Regions from separate parts of the Homo sapiens genome. Here region 2 is linked to region 1. The links are contacts of gene promoters, found by promoter capture Hi-C in blood cells and fetal thymus (Javierre and others, 2016). All regions are on one chromosome and are shown on one strand. Each heading gives the region's core, a stretch centred on a gene start or on the middle of the fragment in contact. The rest is flanking DNA. Distances are from core to core; before and after follow the strand shown. Region 1 holds the start of ZC3H6 (zinc finger CCCH-type containing 6). Region 2 overlaps ZC3H6 (zinc finger CCCH-type containing 6).

Region 1 (7,336 bases), core at 4,837-7,336:
ATGAATTGTGCCTACTTTCTCATTGCCAATGCCTTTGGTCAAGTCCTCATCTGATTTCTAGACGTTTACAATAGCTTTGGTTCATTCTATTCTCTCATTGTCCACATCCAGCCACCAGTAAATCCTATTGGTTCTAAAACCAATCAAACCATATCCACAATCCAACCATTTTCACCTAAACCATCATCATCTGTTACCTAAATTACCACAGCAGTTCCTTTTACTATTCATTTACCTCATTTACCATACTACTCACTTACCATATACCATAGAGGATCCTGTCCCTCCTCTGTTTAATCCCCCATTAGCTCCCAGGTCACTCAAGAGTGAAATCCCTTGTGTTTTCCTCAATCATACCAGGCTCATTCCTGGTCCAGGCTTTCTCTACCTCCCACTCCCTTTATATGGATGCTCTTTCCTCAAATGTCTTGGGTCTGAATTGTTGTCTTGTATCAGGGCTCTTTGCTCAAATGTTACTCTTTCATAAGTGCTTCCCTAAACACCCTCCCCACATCCACTTGACTCCCCATCTCCCTTTCTGCTTTATCACCATTGAACACATCTGTTTTTCATGTTTATTTTCTGTCTCTCCCAAGAAAATATGTTTCATTACACCAAGTTTTTTCTTTATTGCTGTATTCCTGATCCTAGAACAATACATATTAAGCTTCATGTTTAATGAAAATGACTGAAAAGCTTCCTAACTTGTCTTCCTTCTACTGATCTCCCCTTCTGTAGTCCATTTCCTCCTATCCCCCAGGTAGTATACCAAAAAATGCATCTGATCATTCTCCTGCTTAAAAGACTTTGATGGGATCCCCACATCCTTCAGGGTCTGGCCCCAAATTTAATCCGTTTCCCCATTCCCCAAAATAGTTGTACACTCTCCACATACTAACACTTTTATCATCCCTGAACCTACTTGTGCCATTTATCCATGCTTTTCGTGTATCTCTGTATTTACTTGGCCAAAGTTTTATTCATCCTCCAGGTCTAGTTATGCCATGATGTCTCCCAGAAGCCTTCATCTGTGTACCCCCACAGCACTCAGTTCAGGCCTCCATTATAGTACTTGTGCTATACTATGTATTTACCAATCTGTTTCTGCAACTAGATTATAAGATCCCAGAGAGCAAGTTCATGATGTTGTGTCCAGAGTTCTTTTGTCAGTGCTTAACACTATACTTAGCAGAGACGAAACACTGTTAAGTCTGAGGAATGAAAATGTAATGAATGAAATTTTATAATGAATGAAATATTTGTTTATGAGAGGTTGGGGGAAAAAAAGAGTCTTCCTGAGAGTCAGAGTGCTTTACAACATCAAACCTGAGACCTGATACGAGGTTTTACATTTGCTAAAGAAAAATTTCCTTTAGTAATTTCAACAATAGTTAAATTAGTGGATTCAGGAATCAGAAGTAAGTTAATGGCTAGTCAGGAAAGTTATTTACTCCACGGAACATACTAATTTACAAACCAGATATTGTGTGGAGCAAAAAGTGTACTCTAATCTGAGAAAAGGCATCTGCAATTTTTTTAATTAAAATTGATTTAAGTGGGAAGGAAAATTGAAAATGATCTAGTGCAACTACTTCATTTCACAAATGAAAAAAATAATGAAAAGGGGAAGAGCATTAACCCAAGTTAGAAGATCAGGATCAGTACCAAGGTTTTATTCAAAATGAAGGGCTCTCTCTCAAATGTAGCACATTACAATTCCAAACTACTCAAGGATTAAAGCCCAGAACTTATTCCATTACTTTGCTGTGCAAACTTAATGAAGAGTGAAGATAATATTGCAAGTAGGAAAATAATATTGCAAGACTGAAAATAATAATACCTGGGTTCTTATCTAGGTTGTATTTATGAGATCTCAGACAATTCACTGAACCTTGTAATGCTACCTTAATTAACTACCACATGGGATTAATGTGAGAATCAAATGAAAGCCCTGTTGCAAATGAAAAGTATAATCATCTTTTCCATCCTCATCCTTTCAGGTTCTCCAGTGCAGTCTCTTAGCAAGTTTTCAATCTATATGGGGGGCCATAAACCACTTGCAATTCTGACTAGTTGGAGTTTTGTTGTTCTTGTAGTACAGGACAGAAAGCTGCGAGGGAAGGGTGGGGAGGTTGTTTATGTATTATAAACCTCCTCCCAAAGGGGAGTATTATCCATATCACCTATCAGTTAAAGACTCTTTGAGACTCACAAGCTCTTAAAAGGTTCATGCTAAAAAATTATCTTTTTCCCCAGTACAAGCCCTACAAAACCTTTTACCATTAGTATATTTCAGAAAATTCTGTAACAATTACTTGGGTTATATTTATCTTTTCCTACTCTACTACAGATGTGTCCAAAGCAGGGACTCATAGTATTTCGTCTTCAGGAGTTGTGAATTGTTTTAATTGGGTCAACATCCAGTTGAAATATAAAACTGAGCGGCTGGAGTCGTGCCTGAGAGAACTGAATGAAAAAGAACTGAACGACGAGAGACCAGAATTATACCTCCCTCTGATTTCCCTAAATCCCTAAAGACCTTTAGAAACTAGGCTCTGGGCTTATGCAAAAGTCCTCTACTACATTCTACATAGCCACAAGTAGAATTAGAAGTATTTTTATATTAATAACATCTTATAAAATACAATGTTTTAACTCCAGGTGTGAAAATATTTAAAGGAAAGTACACTAAATGGATTTTTTTTAAATTATTCATTTGGCAAACAATCTTGTGCAAAATGTTCACTATATAACATGTACAAGGCCAGGCGTGGTGGCTCACGCCTGTAATCCCAACACTCTGGGAGGCTGAAATGGGAGGATGGCTGGAGCCCAGGAGTTCAAGACCAGCCTAGGCATATAGCGAGACTCTATTTCTTTAAACGAGAAAAAAATTATGCATTCTGTGAATTCCATTTACATTTAGAATCTCATTCTCATAAACAGTAATATTTTAATTTGTATAAAATCAAAGCAATTGTAAATATAAATCATAGGCTTCATTTTTTTTCCTGCATACACAATATGCCTTAATTTTTGAAAATGTTATAAAAAGAATATCCTTGGCTGGGCACAGTGGCTCACCCCTGTAATCCCAAAACTTTGGGAGGCCAAGGCTGGTGGATCACTTGAGGTCAGGAGTTCAAGACCAGCCTGTCCAACATGATGAAACGTGGTCTCTACTAAAAATACAAAAAATTAGCCAGGTGTGGTGGCGGGTGCCTGTAATCCCAGCTACTCAGGAGGCTGAGGCAGGAGAATGGTGTGAAGGCGGGAAGTGGAGCTTGCAGTGAGCTGAGACAGTGCCACTGCACTCCAGCCTGGGCGACAGAGCGAGACTCCGTCTCAAAAAAATAAAATAAATAAAATAAAATCCTTGAGACAAAGCCTAGCTCCATATACCAAGTTTCATATATTTTTCTCCACTTAATTCACAGAAACTTTTATAACAGCATAAAATAGCTATTATATGGAAAGATACAGTATTTTGGAAGCCCGCAGATTAGTCCATTTTTTCCCCAAATTTCTTAAGAATTTCCCAGGGAGCCTATGAAAAATACCCTAGAGATTCTGATTCAGTTGCTCTGGGCAGAACAAAAATTTATTCCCCAAAGTGATTCTGATGATTAACTATCATTGGGAAACACTGATCGAGTATAGCGGTTCTCAATTTGGCACATATTAGAATTTCCTGGGGAGCTTTTAGAACTCTTAAAACCCAGGCTGAGGTCCAGACCAACAGAAATAGCGCCAATACTTTAAAGAAAAAAAGTTCCCCAGGGAAGGTTTAGAACCATTGATCTGATCTTGTAGAATTTCTCCTGACTTCTAGTTCACTTTGTTTTTGATGTAGTTGTTTTGTTTTTCATGTGGGTTGACAAAAAAAGCATGAAAAAAAAAAACCATCTCCTTCATCTCAGCACAATGATGCCACTTAACAATTGGCTAAGTTAAAGTGGAGCTAACCTTTTTGTTTCAGAAATCACTAGAAAATACTTTTAGTCCGAATTTTAAATAAAATAGACTAATCTTAATCTTTAGCTCCTACTACCAACCTATTAACATATCTTACAAATAATTCTTTAAAGTTTTCTAACCTCTAAACCAGTATTTTAAAATTTCAAATTCTTTAAAAGGTCTGTCATCACAGTTCCTTACCAGCAAAATTATTTTGATACTTGAATTTGATGGCATTGTTTTTTCATGATGTACAATACATAACTCCATATATAGAAGTTACTTTGTGCACTAAGAGAGGGGAACAGATATTCTTCCATATTAAAAAAAAAAAGGATTTTAGGCTCCATTAGCAAAACCCCATCATTGGTTTGTCCATACCTCAAGAGCAAGGTATTAGTCAACCCATTCTAAGAATTTCCTTTTTAATACAAAAGATAACGTTAAAAAAATCATTAAAAATGTGCCAAGTGCAAGCTTATCATTTTTAAAAGTGCATTTTACTTTCCAAAAATTTTTACACTTTGATTGACGTGCCCTCTGGGAATCTACTTTTATTATTACAATACTGAAGTTGTTGAAATACCATTTTTATCCCTCTCAAGATTGCTAGGTATTTAGATATTTCAAATTTCAGCAGTGTTTGTGATTTTTGCTTCTGGGTTTTAAAAAACGTGTTTAGGATGCTTTACCAAGCCGATCACATTACTACAGATAAAACTTCAGCAATGTATATAGTCTATAGTAAAACGTATATTTTTTCTTACTTCTATTCACAAAGGAGTAATTGTGAGGTTCTAGATTTTCAAATTAATATTCTAAGTAAGAATCAGATGCAATGGATTTTGTTTCAGTAAGTTTAATGAATGAAAGCCCCCCTTTCGCATTATTAAAGATATATACGAATGAAAATTTGAATTATAACCAAAATTTAAGTATGCTACAGTATACTTTGTAAATGTCCCCAAACTCGAATGGAAACAAGAATGTGCCTCTTAAGGCACAGAGCAAAAAATAAAAAATCAGAATCTCAATATTCAAGTGATACACACCATCTAGAAAATTGGGCTAGCCGGAATAATCCATGGAGTTTTTACGTTAGGGTAAAACTGTGCTAAACTAAGTTTCTGCAAAGCCTAAGTATTTTGTGTTAACATATTAAACTTGAAACTTGCCATCTCAAATTCCAAGGGATAAGACTGTATACAACAGATGGCCTTTTGGTGCTGCTTAAAACTTCCCTGAAAACCAAATGTTTATTTTTTTAGAGGTGTTCTCGGTTCTCGGGAAGCAGTCAAATATCAAAACACCCATTCCTGAAAATTCCTGGCTGGTCCTATCTGGCCGGGAGCACCGACACCTGGACGGGCAGAAGCAGGACCTCAGCACCGAGCCGGGACGCTGAGAGCCGCCCGGCGCACACGGAGCCCGCCCGGGGGGCGGGGGGCTCGCACGTGCCCGGCCGGGGGCGGGGCCGGCGCTGGCGAGCAGCGACCCCGGCTCGGGGAGGCGGGCGCGGCCGGGCCGACCTCCCCCGCGGCCGCGATCCAGCAGTTTACATAAGAGTGCGCGTCATGGAACTGACGGAGCCACACAGAGACGTCTAGGTCATGCAGGAGGCGCCCGGCCCCGGCCCGCTCCCGCCGCCCCAGACCCCTCCTCTCATCCGACAGAAAGACAGACAAGAAGGGTTCCCGACCTGTCGTGCCCTGCATGTTCAGAGTCTGTCATGTTTGGTCAAGAACGGGGCGGGGCTGGAGGGCAGGTCTGCGAGGCCGGCGGCGGCGGGGCGCGGGGAAGACCCCCCGCGCCGCCTGCGGGAACCTGCTCCCGGCCGCCGCCGACAGGTGACGAAGTGGTAAAAACTCACGGTTACTAGTGAGCGACACAGACACAGACTTTCCAGTCTATTAACAACCACGCCAGAGAGATGGGGCTCTAACTGCAAACACTGGGCAACGGCCCCGCGCTGCCGGCGCTGCCGCTCTAGTCTCTATTCGCCGCCGGTGGCTGTGGCGTGGGAGCGGGCGGGCGGCGTGCAGCGACGCGGGGATTTGGACAGTGGCCGTAACGGTGATTTCTCCTCACCAACATGGCGGCACCCGAAACAGGCGGCTCGAGAAAATGGCGCCGGCCGCAACACCTTGCCCGGGACTAAAGGGCAAGAGAGATTCCTCCGCGAGCCGCGGCCCTTGCCCAGCCCGCCGGGGCCGAGCGCGTTGACCATTGGAGGAGAGTGCCCGTCAATCACCTGCAGGGGCGGGTCTTCGCCCTTCTCTGTGCAGCGGCGGAGGCGGCAGCCTAGTGGCGGGGCCGGGCGGCGAGAGACGCGGCCGGATGGCTCCTCGAGTGTCTGCAGGAGGGGGAGGCAGCCCACGGGACCTACGAGGGCCACCAGCGCTTCTGCTCCCGGCGCAGTACGGGCCGCGGTTTTTCCTGCGAGACGCCCGCCGCCCGAGGAGTTCCAGACGCACCAAGCAAACGGGCCCCAAAACCGTTAGCCGAGGCGGGCAGGGGTGGGATAACAAAGAACAAGGCGGCTGTAGAGTCCTTAAATTTTTTTGTGAAAACCTTTGTTCTTGTAATAATAGGGAAATGCAGTTTCTCCTTCACAGTTGTAGCAAGTATCTGTTTTTGTAACGTTTAGTGTTCAGAATCATGTTTTAAGGAAAATAGCTTGCCATGCAGTTTTTTCTTGTATTTGCTGTTAAATTTACCCAATTATTACTTAAATAGGAATAGCTATTGAAATAATTATATAAACGTTACTTTATTTCGTAATAATATTAACATGTAAAATGTATGCGAGTATTTTATAAATACTATTAGGCATGCCTTTTTTTTTTTTTTTTTTTTTTTTTTTTTTTTTTTTTTCTGAGATGGAGTCTCCTCTGTCGCCCAGGCTGGAGTGCAGTGTCGCGCTCTCGGCTCACTGCAACCTCTGCCTCCTGGGTTCAAGCAATTTTCCTGCCTCAGCCTCCCGAGTAGCTGGGACTGCAGGCACGCGCCACCACGCCTGGCTAATTTTTGTATTTTTAGTAGAGATGGGGTTTCCCCATTTTGGCCAGGCTGGTCTCGAACTCCTGACTTCAGGTGATCCGCCCTCCTGGGTCTCCCAAAGTGCTGGGGTTACAGCCGTGAGCCACCGCGCCCGACCATGCATGAGTTTTTTATACTTATGAAGTGACCTTAAAAAATTTTTAAATGACAAGTCAGTGTTTTGGCCTATTTAATATATTAGTCCTGAAGGAAAGTTCCTTGCTTTTTACTAAAATGATAGACTCAATGATTAATCCAAATATCTGACTTAATTTGTCTTTCCTTAATAATACATTTTACTAATACATAAATGGAATGCATTCAAAAACAATTGCAATGA
Region 2 (7,336 bases), core at 1,911-4,410, 40 kb before region 1:
CTCCATAGGAATGCACCATTTTGACATTGCCAGCATCAAGGTCTTCTCACATCCTTGCTAACAAACTTCACTGTCACGATTTTTTTATTTTTGCAAACGTGACACAGCTGCAAATGTTATCTCAGTGTAGCTTAAATTACATTCCCCTTATTAGGAACAAGATTGAACATCTTTCTGTATGTTTTGGGACCATTTGCATTTCTCTTTCTGGGAATTATCTGTATCTCTTCCCTCATTTTTCTTCTCAATGTTTAGAAACTCATATATTAAGGATATGACCTCTTCGTAAGTGATATAAATTACACATAATCTTTCTCACTTCATTATTTATCTTATTATTTAGCTCATGTTATATGTATTTGTTTTGCAAATGCAAGCTTTTTCATGGAGTCAAAATTTCAATCTGTTCCCTTTTTGCTTCTGGATTTTGAGACAGGAAATTTTTCTGTTCCAATTCATCATGTATTCCTCTGGTAATTACATCGTTCCATTTTTTGACATTTTGATCTATGATAACAGGCATTTTTCATTTTATTCACTTTCTTTTTTTTCACATTTTTTAAACACGACAACAGAATTTAAAAATTTATCTGGAAAAATAAACATCAGAATCTACCAAATATTACCGTGGCTGTTGTGGCAGAAATAATCACAGCAAAGCAAGACAGACATGAGGGTGAACAAATCCATGGAGCCAAACACGAAGTCCAGAAGAAAAATCCATATATGTAAACATTTTGTCTGTGATAGAGTTTCAATTCTGTGGGGGAAAGCTTCATTAGTCATAAGTCGTAGTGAGCAACCTGACAGATATTTGGGGGAAAATTAACATGGAAAAATTGCAGAATACATTTTTTTAAAGGACCAGAACACTATATATAGTGAAATTCCAATTTGGGTAGGAGCAGGAATACAATTTAAATGTATATATTTCCCAAGGGAGAGTGGGGAAGAATATACAGCATCTATCATTGAGTGGTAAGATTTGATAAGACTTATAATCTTCACAATGATAATTTTTTACTCCCGAACTTAAGTAAAATAATTATGGAATAAAATAAGTATTTTGCCAACTACTCCTTCAGGAAGCACAATCTCTTGAAATACTTTAAGCTGATTATATTAAAGTACCTTCCCTTCACAGAATTTTTTCCAAAGGGCAGTTATCTCATTTCCCTAAAGAATAAAGGTCAGTTTGCTCTTTTGAAGTACAAAGTTTGACTAGACTGGGTTTATGTAATGTGTTGTTTTAAATTTAAAACCAAACTAGGCTTTATAGGGTGTATTTATTATTTTTTAAAACCTCAATGATGCTTTAAAACCCCAGCATTTTATTTAACATACATTTTAAATAAAGGATATTATGCATATAAATGCAGTTCTCTCCTTTGGTACAATATCCTTGTAAATAAAATTTGCAGATCTCTTTTCTTTTCTCCAACTCTGCATCATGATCAAATTTACACTGATCTCCCTATTCACAAAAAAAAAAAAAAGAAAAAAGAAAAAAAGGTAAGAAACAATGAGAAACAAAGAAACAACAGCTGAATTTTCTACATGGTGTCTCATGGTAAAATTATGGTCATTATCTTCAGTCTTTAATAATGAACAAATAATAACTCAAATGACCCCTTAGAATTCCTGCCCAAGACAGTGGATGTAGCTACATGCATTAAGGCAGCACAGTGAGCAAGACCTCACAGGATACTGCCTGAATTGGCAACCAGCACTCACCATTTCTTGCTGAGCTACCATGGGAACTTACTTAACCTCTTGGTGCCATGAATAAAATGGGGATAATAACATTAACTACTTTGTAGGGTCACTGTAGGATTAAATCATTTAATATTAGTTGTACTTTGAACAGTACTTGCCACGTAGCATTATGTGTCTTTTAAACAAATCCGATTTCAACAAATTATGTTATTGTCCCAGAACATAATTAAATGAGCTCTAATGTACGGTATTTCCATGCAAGATACATTTTAAAGACCCAGTTTTATTACAACTATATGAGAAGAGAAAAAAATTAACCATCCCCCAAAAGACTTTAATTTTAAAGATTATTTTGGAAGTTAAAATGACTTATGATACCTCTATAAATTTACCTTAATACACCTCCCTTCCAGGAAGTATTTACAGATTTGTTTTCCTTTGTGTTCCACTGTGTGCTGATTAATAAATTCCTGAGTCATAACCTTCCATTTTTTCCCTGGTTTATTATACTGCAAGAAAAAAATTCCATTTGAATGCAGCATATGAAATATTAATAGGTATCAAAATGTATGATTAAGTTGATCTGGAAAAAAGTACAAATTGACTACAAAAAGTGATCAAGATTGAACATTCTGATGCTATTCATTTATTTGGAGAGAGATATGTGTCTAGTAATCTACTTATGCTACTAGTGATCGCAAAAAAAAGCCTATTTCTTTCTATTTTAATGAAGATGAATAACTTTTTAAATAAAATTATAAAAAGTTTAAAAATTCACAATTCTCAATTTGGGCAAAGACACAATAAAATATGCACTCATATTATTGATAGGTATGTTATAAAAGACTTTAAAATATCCATATTGTTTGACATACAACTTGTACTTTTTGGGATTATTTTGAAAGAATTATCAGGGAGACACAAAGATCTAGTCATATAATAAAATACTGACATAGTAAAACAAACAGCAAAACGAGAAACACTCTACACATTTAAAACTAGAAGACTGGTCAAATATATTATGATACACTTAGGTGGTAGAATATTATGCAGTCATTAAAAAATCAACAACTTTGGATCATAAAAACTGTTTACAGATCAGGCATGGTGGCTCATGCCTGTAATCCCAGCACTTTGGGATCATTTGAGGCCAGGAGTTTGAGACCAGCCTGGCCAACATAGTGAAATCCTGTCCATACTAAAAATACAAAAAATTAGCCAGGTGTGGTGGCACACACCTCTGTAATCTCAGCTACTTGGGAGGCTGAGGCACGAGAATCGCTTGAACCTGGGAGGTGGAGCCTGCAGTGAGAGCCAAGATCACGCCACTGCATTCCTGCCTGGGCAACAGAGTGAGAGTGTCTCAAACAAACAAACAAAAAAAAAACAAAAAAAAAGTTTACAATATTTTATGAAGTAAAAAATTGATCCCAATTCTACAATAATAAATAAAGGCAAAGGAAAAAAGACAAAAAGAATATACCCCCATATTTTACAGTGTATGTCTCTGGATGGCAGGATTAGAGATTTTATGTGTGTGGTTATTTTGTACTTTCTTTAGGGGAAAAAAAGGGCAAACAAACAGGCGGCGTGTATTACTTTTAACTTTTAAATATAAAAAGTTAAGAAAAAAACTTAAGAAAATTAAAGGAAAAGAAATCTTATAGCCCTACTTGTTTTCCTTACTTCTCCTGAGTCCCCTATTCAACTTCTGCTTTAAGTATAAGATTAAGTAACAAGGCAGAGTATGATGCTTAGCCATGCTAAATGTAATGAGTTACATTCATCAACTCTAAAAAACAACATTATTTTTCATGCACCTGGCATGCACTGTGCCCTGTATATCATAGGAGTTCAATGACTATTTACTCTTCTGATTTGATTTCTGTTTTCCCTTTTCTCTTAATTTGCTAAAAGATAGAGCATAAAGTTCAATCTACTGAAAACAAGAGATTGCCTCACAGCAAACATTGAGGCAATAGATGTCTAAATTGAAATCTGATCCCCAGCATTCACAGCTCAAATCACATTTTACTGTAAGAATTCTAAAAAAGGTACAAGAATACAAAGTAAACAGATAATCCTAGAGATTCGTTTTAAAAATATAAACATACCTAATTTACCCCAGGAAAACACAATGAAATTGCTTATAATATACTATGACAGAATCATTTAAAGTGTCTCAAATCTATATAAATTTGATTCACAAACATTTTTATGTTTAGAGATTCGTTTAGAATAAGCAGATATAAATGACCAGCTCACATAGGCATTCTATACAAAGAATCATGGCTGTTATAAAATAAAATAAACAGCCAAAGAAAGTAAATTATGCAAAAATCAATGAGCAACCTGAGGAATATAACTCTGAAATTAAAAAGTAAAAAAATTAGGTAATCACACACACACACACACCCTGAAAAATGCAACAAGTTGTACTTAGCGTTTCATTAATAACTTACTCTTTCTGTATACATTACTTCCAAATAATGTTTCATTGTTTTAATAGAGGATTGTGGTGAGGAAGTGTTTTGTTTTGTTTTTTAGTTTAGTTCCACTTAAATGAGTAGAAAGTATGTCAGTGTCCACAGCTATGGGAAACCTGACTATAATCAAGGTACTATAGAAAATCTAAAGCAACTTTAACAAATAAATTTTTAGGGCAAAATTAAGTGCCCAGAAGATATGGTGAGTTAGCAGACTGACAGAACTCAGGAATTGTGCCTTGCAACTCCTCCTATATTCTTTGCATTACAAGACAGTACTGCGAATAAAAAAAAATACAAGAATGAAGGAGAGAAAGAGGGAGAGATGGAGGGAGAAAAAAAACCAAGCTACCTACTGTACTTGGTCATTTTAAAACTTATTTACTTTAGAAGATATATTGATACAAGAGACAAGAGCATAAAATATTAATATATATCAGGTAGAGGAAATGTAAGGATCTACCAGGAAAATAATATTTATTACAAAAAAATGTAATAGGTACAGTAAATACTAAAACAATTTAAGAGTATTATGGCCAATAAAATGAAGAAGCCTTTAAAATTCAGTGAAAGTTTGCTTCTTTGTGACTACTCTTGATTTTTCAAAAAAATTATGATGAATCTGAAGGTACCCCGAATTGATTTGGCTTTGGAGACTCTCATAGTCTCTGAAAGGCCTAGGACAGAGACGGATCTATCTTGGCCACTCTGCTGTGGCCTCCATGTTCATGCTATTCTGGATGGGCCACCTGCAGACCATTCCTGAACATGAACTGCTTCCGTGGGCTCTGGCACACTCCCAGTTGTTTCTGGAATCATAAGAAATGTCTCTCGTGATAGCCAATAAATTGACATGACTGATAATGTATTTTTATCTTTATTTTTCTGTTATATGATTATCTTTTAGGTATAGCCCAGATCTACAGACATCTAAAATGCTGTGCTTGATGGGGCCCTTAGAGTTAACTTAATACTATACCCTCATTTTGCAGATTAAGCAAATTGAGGCAAAGAGACAGGTATAACTTGCTCAAAGTCACACTTTCCTGGAAGCTAATTTTGTTTAAAGGTATAGGGTGTAAGAACTGGGTATAGGTGCAGGCTTACTTAGAAAGCATTTGTATTAGTTTGGGTTAGGGAAATCAGCATATTCTAAAGGTCTACTGGTGTCTAAGAAGATGACAGGCAGGTTTTTAGTCACCCCAAAATTCTAAAATAATAACCATAGTAATTCCAAAGCTGCTGTTCCATGGAACAGTGAGTGGCTCAGTGAATGTTAGTAGGTGTGTAGGGAAAAAAATAGTTTGTAGTTGAGTAAATGATGGGTTGAACAAAATAAGCTTCTTTTTGCCTAAGCTGCTCACAAGCTTTACTACATTAATGTCAACTGAGAATCTCCAAAAGCAGATGGCATGTGCTGGGTTTCGCAAATTTATTTGGGTCTGACCTTCTTTTTTTAGGTCACACCTGTTAACATCTCCTGAAACAGTATACTAAGGAGTGCATATTAAGAAATCTCTGCCCACTATCTTTAAACTGAGAGATCAGAAAACCAAGCATTTTCAAATTATAGTATATAGCTATCCCTCTCAGCTCTCACACAAAGTTGCAGCTTTTTTTTTTTTTTTATTTTGAGATGGAGTCTCGCTCTGTCACCCAGGCTGGAGTGTAGTGGAGCCATCTTGGCTCACTGCAACCTCCGCCTCCTGGGTTCAAGCGACTCTTCTGCCTCAGCCTCCCGAGTAGCTGGGACTACAGATGTGCACCACCACATCCGACAAATTCTTGTATTTTTGTAGAGATGGGGTTTCTCCATGTTGGCCAGGCTGGTCTTGAACTCCTGACCTCAGGATCTGTCCGACTTGGCCTCCCAAAGTGCTGGGATTACGGGCGTGAGCCACTGTGCCCAGCCAAAGCTCCAGCTTTTAATGACCCACTATTGCCTCTATAATTCAATCAAATCTTACTAGAACAGTAGTAGAACACAGGAATTGGACCACAGTAATCCAGGGAGTCACTACAAGGTTAAAAGTTCATGTTCAGAGTTCAACTCAATTTGACATATATTTATTGAATATCTACAACATGTAACATACATAAGTTCACCTTTCCAACCATTTATATCCCCCTTTCTTCTCTTTCAATCTTTTCAACTCTAAAAAGGAAGTTAATTTACCACTGCCTCCCTTCTTGTCCCCCCTACATATTGAGCTATTAGCACTTCATTGCCAGTTACATCTGGGGAAGATGATTCCTAGGAAAGAAAAGCACAAAAGAAGACTAATAGAGGATATATTTTTGCTTTTAAACTTAGCAATTTTATTTTGAGGTTCTTTCAAACATAACAATTTTATTTCAAAGTCAGCAAAATCTGTAAATTAGTTTCACAACTAATTAACAACTATTTTTTGGAGGTTATTGATACTCATTTTATCTGAGCTGGTAATTTTTCATTTACTAGAGAAGTATCATTAAAATCACAATGCTTTCTTTGCCATCAAATAAATTAAAAGATGAAAAAGCTCCTCCCCTCCTTATACATAAATTCTTAGTACCTCTTGAAAGTCATCCGATACTGAAAACACATTAGGCCCTTTATTGGTTCTTCCCCCACGTTCTTTTCGTTTGATTTTCTTCGGCAAGCCACGTCCACGACCAACATTAAAACTTTTAACTCTCTGTTCAATACCTAGAAAAGTTAAAATGTACTTAAATTTAAAAGAAAAACAGCATACCTTTCAATTTATTAGTTTATAAGGAACAGCACATTTTAATAGTCTATAATATACAGTGCATTCTTTTTTTTCCTTCTAGATTCAATGAAAAAAATTAAATCTTTGTATCTTATCTCCTTGGTACTGCTTCTTAAGGGATGTTAACAACATAGGAAGGCAAGGAACAAGGATACACATGGCTAGAGAAGCGAAATCAAGTTTTATTCTTTTTAATTTTCCTTAGCATAAGATCATTAACAAGCCTTTCTGTTTTTAAGAGAATCAAATATTATATTCCTATTTAAGGAAGACATTGTAGGTATCAGTGGTTAATTAGCAGCAAATCAAATTTCCACTGGTAATTTTGAGTAGATATATACACATATATCTCCAGGAAAAATTATACTTCTTTTGTTTTTG

What was found. Contacts are between HindIII fragments. The CHiCAGO score rates a contact against its expected background, and 5 or more counts as called.
Region 2: a fragment that was not itself captured here is called in contact with the fragment with the promoter of ZC3H6 in region 1 in 1 of 17 cell types (naive CD4 T cells); the score reaches 5.2 in naive CD4 T cells.

The regions. Positions count from the first base shown.
Region 1 is chr2:112,274,347-112,281,682 of GRCh38, reverse strand. ZC3H6 (zinc finger CCCH-type containing 6) reads right to left here and starts at 6,086. Exons shown (of 12, transcript NM_198581.3): 1 at 5,657-6,086. The coding sequence starts at 5,688. RefSeq lists a silencer at 5,317-5,796 and enhancers at 5,987-6,196, 5,812-6,384. The HindIII fragment of the contact is 12,828 bases long and covers 4,437-7,336 here.
Region 2 is chr2:112,311,359-112,318,694 of GRCh38, reverse strand. ZC3H6 (zinc finger CCCH-type containing 6) reads right to left here. Exons shown (of 12, transcript NM_198581.3): 5 at 6,758-6,891; 6 at 2,109-2,225; 7 at 1,363-1,474. Among named protein-coding and RNA genes, the nearest start is that of ZC3H6, 39 kb to the right of the region's middle. The HindIII fragment of the contact is 4,769 bases long and covers 776-5,544 here.